3 separate regions of the Homo sapiens genome follow, and regions 1 and 3 are each linked to region 2. The links are contacts of gene promoters, found by promoter capture Hi-C in blood cells and fetal thymus (Javierre and others, 2016). All regions are on one chromosome and are shown on one strand. The core of a region is centred on a gene start or on the middle of the fragment in contact, and the rest is flanking DNA. Distances in the headings are between cores, read along the strand shown.

Region 1 (3,020 bases), core at 283-2,782, 280 kb before region 2:
CCATCCTTTTCCACTGGATTGCCCCAGCCCCTAGCAGAGATTAAGGGCTCCGTACAATTTGATTCAGCTGAGATGGAAAAGCTGACATCATCTACCCTGCATGCCATTAGAGTGACTTCTACCAAATGAATAAAACATGATCATTTTGCATAAACTCAGAAAAGCATTTTTTTCCTCTAACCAAATTGAAGAAGAATTAATTGAGCACTTCCTGGTGTCCTAACAGTTAATTCCTTTTTAAATCACCACATGGCTGCCATGCCTTGGGTGGCTGTACCATGTATCCCCACCATCCAGGGACCAGCCAGATGACATCAGGGTGCGGAGAGGCAGTTAGGCCTCCCCTCATTGTATAGCAGAGTCTTGTTTTAATGAAAAAGTCCCACTTTCTTCCCCGACTGAAACTCCCTTAAGTCCATATAAGTCACTGTGGATGGAGAGGTACTGTTACCGTAGCTGTGTGTGTACTGAAGGGGCACCTCTACAACCGACAGTGGCCAGAAGTGAGAAAATAAAATGGAGAGTAGTCTAGAAACATGTGCCTCATCCAACCCACTCCGCCTGAAAAAAACTTCCTTCCTTTCTCAAGAGACACCTGGGCGCCTTTTCATTCTCCCTACCACGTGGCCAAATGCTCACAACTAATGCTTAAGTTCTGAAGTTTACCCAGGTAGAGACGGAATCATTGATGACATTTATGTGTTCACTCAAAACAAACGAACGGGGGCACAGGGGCTGATGCCTGTAATCCCAGCACTTTGGGAGGCTGAGACAGACAGATCGCCTGAGGTCAGGAGTTTGAGACCAGCCTGGCCAACATGGCAAAACCCTGTCTCTACTAAAAATACAAAAATTAGCCAGGCGCAGTGGTGGGCACCTGTAATCCCAACTACTCGGGAGGCTGGGGCAGGAGAATTGCTTGAACCCAGGAGGCGGAGGTTGCAGTGAGCCAAGATCGCGTCATTGCACTCCAGCCTGGGCGACATGGTGAGACTCCATCGCAAACAAACAAATGAAAAACACAAAAGGCAAAACACATAACTTTCTTCTACTTTAGAGGAAGTGGAAGGGAACTACTGTGTGTGTGTGCCAGGCATCATGGAGAATGTTTCACATGCACCGTCAACACATCCTCACGTCCACTCCAGAAAATGTATCACCAACCCTCATCCTAGAGTGAAGACAACCACATTTCAGGTAAGCTAAGTAACTTGCCCAAGGTCACCTTCCTTCACACCCTGCAAAGATGTGTCATCTTAAGAGATTCTTCAGTGTTAACTAAATGACGCTACTCCCCAGAGCATTCCATCTAGTTTGCCCTCTATCTTAAGTTTATCCTCTTGATTTTTATTGGCTTCCTTATTGGACTCAACTTCCTTTCCCTTAAGATGTCGCTACCTGGCATTAACCAGGTGTTCATTGCTCAAAGTAATCAGTTTCCTCAATCCTCCTTTATTAAACAACCTGTTTCCTTAATCACTCCCTATCCCCAACCCGCCCCCAGTGATTCTGCTACTGAGTGCTTGCTGGCTAAAATCAGCTCTAAGAGATCTTCGAAAACTGATACCACAACAACTCTCATTACCACTAGTCAACAGACATGCACTATTGAACACCTAATGTGTGCCAACCCTGTGCGACAATGTGTATGGGCTGCAGGGTATGGAAGGGATCAGGACAGTGTTTGGGTGCCTCCTATGCCCAGGGGCATTACACATTACCTCTTTAATCTGGGGTACATTTATATCCATTTTACAAATGGGCAAACTGAGACCTAAGTTAGAAGTCCCTTGCCCGGAAACAGAGAGGCTAGGATTGTGGCCATAGAGCCCCAGCCTCTCCAGGAGGCCTCCTATATGCTGCCTGGCACAGTGCAAAGAGCCCTCCAGCATACAAAGAACAGACCAGCCCCGGTCCTCAGGAGCTCACCGCATAGTTGGGAAGCCTGGCTGTTCATTAAGAAAACTCTGCAGTTCAAGTGAGTATTTGCAGGGGGATCAATGAGTGGGCAAATAAGAGTGGCCCATGAGGTGGGAAGAGCGGGGCACTGGGGGAGGCCCCAAGCAGAAAGACATGAGCCAGGCTGGGCTTGGTGGCTCATGCCTGTAATCCCAGCACTTTGGGAGGCTGAGGCGGGCGGATTGCCTGAGGTCAGGAGACCAGCCTGGCCAACATGGTGAAACTCTGTCTCTGCTAAAAATACAAAAATTAGCTGGGTGTGGTGGCGGGTGCCTGTAATCCCAGCTACTCAGGAGGCTGAGGCAGGAGAATTGCCTGAACCCAGGAGGCAGAGGTTGCAGTGAGCCGAGATTGCGCCACTGCACTCCAGCTTGGGCGAGAGGGCAAGAGGTCAAGAGGGTGAGACCTCATCTCAAAAAAAAAAAAAAAAGAAAAGAAAAGAAAAGACATGAGCCAGGCTGTGCTGTGGGAGATGATCCTGAGGAACAGCCTCTCCCTGTGAGTCCATCACATTGACCCTGCCGGACTGCAGTCATTTTCACAGGTCATGCCCTTCTATCACCAAATCTCCCCAAGTTCTCTGAAGGAACAGGCCACTTCTTTCCACCAAACTACTCAACTGAGCGCTGCATGTGCTCTGACCCTTCCTAACTTTCCCTTCTCATTCTTCTGCATGTGAACTTTGCTGTGAATATGGCCTGCAGGGTTCTGTGAGGGTCGCAAACAGTCAGCCCATCTTGGAGAGCCCCTTTCAACACTTCTCTGTGCAGCGGAATGAGGCAATGGGAAAGTGGGCAGGAGGCCCAGGCTGACTTTCACGGTGAATTCCCTGAGCCCCGTGGAGATGCTGCCCTTGAGAAGTCATCAATCAACAGCAACCCCGGGGGGTACATTACTGACTGCTGCACATTTCTGGTCGCTCTTTCTGCAAACAGAAGGGTACATATCAAAGTTCTATACTGGTGCAGGCTGTAAGGACAATCTATTTGCTATCAGTGTGTGTCGGGTAAATCCATATCCCATTAGGCCAATTTTGCTCAAGCATATGCCACTTTCACTTT
Region 2 (2,996 bases), core at 162-2,661:
CCCTTGTGGGGAGAGGAAAGTCAAGCTTCAATGCTTTGCTGGCCCACTCTTACTCTCCTCCTCACTGTAGTGTGGCTACTACCTGCATACCCAACCCTTGAAGCTAGACTGTTTTGCTTGGGTGTCTGTTTCCTCTGGCTGTATCTGGTTCCTACTCTTGGTCGTAAATTCCTCCAGGGCAGGACTTATGTCAAAAGACTTTGCAGTATATTAGTTCACCTTTACCCTTACTACCTCTGCAATGATTGGAATGTCCCCTTCAAAAATTCAAGTTGAAACTTGTCATTGTAATAGTATGAAGAGGTGGGACCTTTAGGAAATGATTAGGTCATGAATGAGTTAATTCCATTATCACAGGAGGGTTAGTTATTTCGGGAGTCAATTGGGTTCACATGCCTCCCCCACCCCTACCCCAGTATGATGCCCTCCATCATATTTTGACACAACAATAATGCCCTCTGTCTTGGACTTCCCAGCCTTCAGAACTACAAGCCAAACAAATCTCTTTCTTTATAAATCTACCAGTCTATGGTATTTGGTTACAGCAGCAGAAAATTGACCAAGACAACCCCTTACCATAAACCTGAGTAGCAAATGCAACATCAAAAGTAGGTGAATAGTAAGTAGTACATTATTGTTGTTGATTTCTATGATCTGGTTTCTCTTCCCACAATCCTGAACGGTAAGGTGTTCTCTAGTATTTCTTCAGGACCATAAATTGTGAAGGAGACTGTGATTGTAGTAGACAATTCTAGGCCTTCTGGAACCATCACTAAAGGCAACATACGACTGTGCTAATTAAAAGGAAAAAAAAATCCCTAAACAATCTCGGAAACTGATCTTTCCTGGCCAACAATCTCAGATATAGAAGATTAGATTTACTAAATTTAGAAAGAATCCTTTTTTTTTTCCCCCAATCACAAAAATTATCCAGTAAAATCTATGCTCACTTCCGGTAGATCTGCAACAAGGCACGGTCACAGGTCATTTCAATAACTTGCTAGGCTCTTCAGTACTCAGAGTCCCTGGAAATAAGTCATTAGCAGTGGAAAGCTGCTTTTTAGAATTTTCTAAAACAAATCCATGGGGTTTTGATCTGCTAAATTCGAATGTAGACAACAGCAGCCTTATTTCCCTACTTTTATAATCTAATTTATTTGGCTGTATCTGTGGGCTTAAGAGTTTAGTGTTCTTGGTAAATAACACGTAAAAAAAAAGTCATTTTTCATTTCTACGAACCAGCCCCACCCCGGCGCTCCCTCGGGATCCTCGCTCTAGCCCCGCCTCCGTCCAGCCTGGCTCCGCCCCGTTCGGTAGCGCCGCGCCTTGGAGGTCTGTGGCTAACTTGGTCCGGAAGAAGCGAGGCGGACCTTCTGGCGTTTGAAAAACTTCCGGCGGGAACCGGAAGGTGCGGTGGCACTCACGGAATCTCGGGTCTTCTGACGTGCCGGGCGGGAAGGTGAGCTGTGCGTGCGCCTTGGCGGTCGTCTTGCGGGTTCTCAAGAGCCCGGCGTCCGGGCTCCGGGATCTTTGGGGCCATTAAAAAAGTTCTGAGCGCTCATTTGGGCAATAACACCCCTTTTTTAAAAGTGAGAAGTTCATTACATTTTACTGTCAGCGGTCTCTCACAACCGACCACCCGAAAACCCCTCCTAGCTACCTCGTGACACCTCTTTTCAGCCAAATTGCTGCAGCTCTTAGCGCATAACAGACATAGAAAAGCCTGGGCAAGCCTGTTTTTTTTTTTTTTGAGACGGAGTCTCCCTCTGTCGCCCAGGCTGGAGTGTAGTGGAGCGATCTCGGCTCACTGCAAGCTCCGCCTCCCGGATTCACGCCATTCGCCTGCCTCAGCCTCCCGAGTAGCTGGGGCTACAGGCGCCCGTCATCACACCCGGCTAATTTACCTGGATTGTTTTTATACCTAAAATTATCGGAGGTGGGAGAGGAAGCACCCTTTTCACGGTCATGGTGGCCCTGTCTGAATCAACTGCACCTTCTGTAGTGCGCCTGGCATGTAGGAGGCGCTCAGTAACCGGAGGAAAGGAATGAATTGGGAACTCTCTAGGCAACTTTCCTCGAACCCCTCACGTGACATGTCATTAACATATTGTGTGTGGAATGGGAAACGAGACTAGTCTTGGTGTTCCAGGCACTGGGCTATAGTCCTTTGCCACATATCTTTCCCCTTTGAGTAAACTGTTTCACCTCATTGGGTCTCAGATTTCTGAATATAGCGGGACTGTCTGATCTCAGGTTCTTTCAGCTCTAGTATTTTGTTTTTGTGACTTGGGAATCTGCTAACATTCAAGCACTCTGTTGGTCCTTCATGGAAACTTGTTTAGGTGCTTCTTAAGAAATTGTCCTCCTTTGTTTGCCTTCTTGAATTTAAATTTTTTTTTCCAATTTTAATTTAGTATTTGTTAGTGTGCACGTCCTTTTGCCCCTTTGTCCTGATTTGCAGTCGTCCTAGTTTAGTGGCTCTTCCCTTAGTAACATCATAGCAACCTCCAAATTATTGGTTTGGAATATGCTCATGTGCCTACAGTGATTAAGATAGTTTGAAAGGAGGGAAAAATCCCAAGTCACTGAAGAATAGGAATATTCTTATGTGCCATCACTTCTTCAGAAAGAGATGAATGCAATGTGTGGCATTGCCTAAGAGTGGTGGAAAATAAATGTATATTCCTCTGTAGAGACCATATTTGTACATATTATGTTCATTTAATAGTTGTAGGGCATCTGTTAAGTGCTAGGTTCTATGATATGGAAGTGAATAAGGCACATGCATTTCCTTCTTTCATGGTATTTACTCTCTTGACAGCAGTGCAAGCAATAAACAAGTAAAATAAAAATAATTACAGATTGTGTTATAACCTACTGTATACAGGAAGTAAATAGGCTCCTTTTAAAATATAATTGAGAAACCTATTTTAGGCCTGAAATGTTAAGATCTAAGGGATGCAAGGAGCCAGCCAATTGACAAGCAGGGGGAAGAA
Region 3 (2,700 bases), core at 25-2,524, 330 kb before region 2:
TGTGTTTGAAAGCATGTGTGGGAGTGAAAGCATGTGTGACATGCATGCGGTACGTGAGAGTGAACACTTGTGAGCGCAAGAGTGTGCGCTGTGTGAACAGAGTGTATGTGTGGACCAGTGAATGTACCTGGCCCTGGATACAAGTCATCATCTTCTTCTTGCTCCAATTAACGTGTTCTCTGCTTCTTCCATTTCTTTGACTGACTTGGGCCTACTAAGCCAGACGTCTCCAAATATTTTTGACTGCATATACCAGCAACAACATTTTGAAATGTTTTCATATAAATTATAAACACATACTCTGGCCATCCATACATCAAATATTAAAGCTAAATCATGTTCTTGCTTCATAGGTAAGAAAATGAATACAGATGGAAGGTCTGTTTCCCAAATCCCAGTAGCTCATCTTGCCTACTCTGGGCACTGTGTCCAAATTCCACTTTGCAGGCCACTCCTTGAAGCCACAGCTACCCCTAATCTGGCCTCTCACCAGACTCCTAGACACACATCTTGCTGAGGACTGGTGCCAGATTACCTGAAGCAAATGTCAGGTGATGAACTGGAAAAGAGGTCTGAGGGAAGCTTCCAATTTGCATTGCTGATGCCAATTTCAGGAACCAGTAAGTGAGCGCAAAAAAGAAGAAGGCAGGAAGACGCAGAGACAAGTTCTAAAACATCAGGTCAACTAAGCAAGGAGACTCTCTGAGGCTGTACTGGAAGCAGGGGAGAATGTTCATATTTCTGAATGCACTTGCTGGCAATTCACTGCCAGCCCAGTATGGTGAGGGGCTGGGTTACACCCACATCTCAGAAATGACGGCAGACTCCCAAAACAATTTACAGCAAGCATGCCTTAAAAGTGCATTAGCGGGCCAGGCATGGTGGCTCACGCCTGTAATCCCAGCACTTTGGGAGGCCAAGGCAGGCAGATCATGAGGTCAAGAGATCAAGACCATCCTGGTCAACATGATAAAACCTCGTCTCTACTAAAAATACGAAAATTAGCTGGGCCTGGTGGCACGCACCTGTAGTCCCAGCTACTTAGGAGGCTGAGGCAGGAGAATCACTTGAACCCAGGAGGCGGAGGTTGCAGTGAGCTGAGATTGCGCCACTGCACTCCAGCCTAGCGATAGAGTGAGACGCCTTCTCAAAAAAAAAAAAGTGCATTAACTAACTGCCATTGGAATCACTTGCTGCATTACATTTTCTCTTAGTGACTTGGGGTTGAAATGTCTCTTTGAAAGTCTTAGTAACCTCGACAAAGGAAGGTGCCCAGATGCTACTCTACAGGAGAATACGGTATGAAATGATGAAAGAGCAACATGCGGAAGGAAGGGCAGCTCCAAGGCCCAACTGCCTGACAGTAAGACATCAGGGAATGAAGTGGTGAACACAGGGGAAGGTGGCAGTGCTGGCTTTAGACAAGCCCATCTCTTGTCACTATTGGGGTGCTACCAAAATAAATGCCTAAGGTCTTCAATAACAGCACTTGGCACTTGTATCAAATTTCTTTCCCGAAACACACCCATATCCCTTGTCTTATTGAAGCCTCCAAGTGACTCTGTGAGTGAGGGCATAATGTATAATGTTTGGTTTTGGTTTTATATTTTCCGGGAGAAGAAACAACGGGGAGATTTATAGCCCGGCACCTCCTCCACCCTGGCAGGGTGCTGTGGGCTGGATTTCACTGGGACAGCAGGGTTGGATGAGGTCAGAGCCAGCGTGGAATTAGCCTACTGCGCTGGATTCCTGAGTGTTGACTCAGCCGCAAGACTCCAGAGGGCAGAGCGCTGAATGTGCTAGAAAGAGTTACGAATGAGGTGCCCACCATGTGTAACTGGGTGAGAACACCCAGCCTCTGCCCTCAGGGGTTTGCAATCTAATACATCAGGAATAGGGCCAATGTTTGAGAGAACTGTAGATGAGTGAGAAAGAAAACTGGCACGACTTTGTAAATATAAGCTTTCTCAATTTAAGCAAACTTGCACATTTGTTTACTTTGTTCTAAGAGTTGCTGAATAAGGCATGATACCATGAGTTTATGGTCAAACAGCCAGGGAAAGGCAGCATCTAGGCAAAAGAGAAGGGACCCATAAGTTAGGAAAGAATGCAAATTGGAGGCCAGGAAAAGTTTGCTAACTGAATAAATAGCTGCTGCAAGGCTTGATGGGGGTTTGAGGGGTGGGCGCTGAAATGTTGAAAGGGACACAACAGGTCAATCACAGACACAAGGTGGAAAATGCAGGGATATCTATAGAGTGGGTAGGGAGGATGTAGGTTCCAAGTCACTAAGGATAGTCCTAGATTTTGCCTGTTTTCTTAGAGTAATTATGTATAGTGTCACTTATCATTCTCAACTGTGTCCTTTCTTGGAGGATAAATGATATAGTCACCCTAGTTCTCCAAAACTCACAAGATGCATTGAATTGCCAGATAGCCCCCCTCCAGCCAAGCCATCTACACCAGCTTCTATATTTGCACCACCTCTCCAAGGGGCTAAATACCACCTCCAAGAGACTAAATACCACCCCCATCAGCCCTGCCCTGAGGCTAAGAGAGCAGATGGTTCTATGTGGGTGTGAACAGTCTTTAATTCTTCATTTCTGGGCTAACACTGGCTCCTGAGAATCCAAGAGGAACAGAGGGAGGAGAACAAGAAGAGGCCGAAGGGGAAGGGTCGGGACCCTCTGAGTGACATTA

The links. Contacts are between HindIII fragments. The CHiCAGO score rates a contact against its expected background, and 5 or more counts as called.
Region 1: a contact is called between a fragment that was not itself captured here and the fragment with the promoter of SRBD1 in region 2, in 1 of 17 cell types (monocytes). The highest score is 5.1, in monocytes.
Region 3: a contact is called between a fragment that was not itself captured here and the fragment with the promoter of SRBD1 in region 2, in 6 of 17 cell types (endothelial precursors, M1 macrophages, M2 macrophages and 3 more). The highest score is 9.0, in endothelial precursors.

Annotation. Positions count from the first base shown.
Region 1 is chr2:45,892,723-45,895,742 of GRCh38, reverse strand. All of the region lies in intron 2 of PRKCE (protein kinase C epsilon), which reads right to left. Among named protein-coding and RNA genes, the nearest start is that of PRKCE-AS1, 220 kb to the right of the region's middle. RefSeq lists silencers at 1,531-1,590, 1,560-1,732. The HindIII fragment of the contact is 8,081 bases long and covers 1-3,020 here.
Region 2 is chr2:45,609,682-45,612,677 of GRCh38, reverse strand. It overlaps SRBD1 (S1 RNA binding domain 1), which reads left to right and starts at 1,411. Exons shown (of 21, transcript NM_018079.5): 1 at 1,411-1,459. RefSeq lists an enhancer at 1,591-1,760. The HindIII fragment of the contact is 4,677 bases long and covers 28-2,996 here.
Region 3 is chr2:45,938,023-45,940,722 of GRCh38, reverse strand. All of the region lies in intron 2 of PRKCE (protein kinase C epsilon), which reads right to left. Among named protein-coding and RNA genes, the nearest start is that of PRKCE-AS1, 260 kb to the right of the region's middle. The HindIII fragment of the contact is 1,380 bases long and covers 585-1,964 here.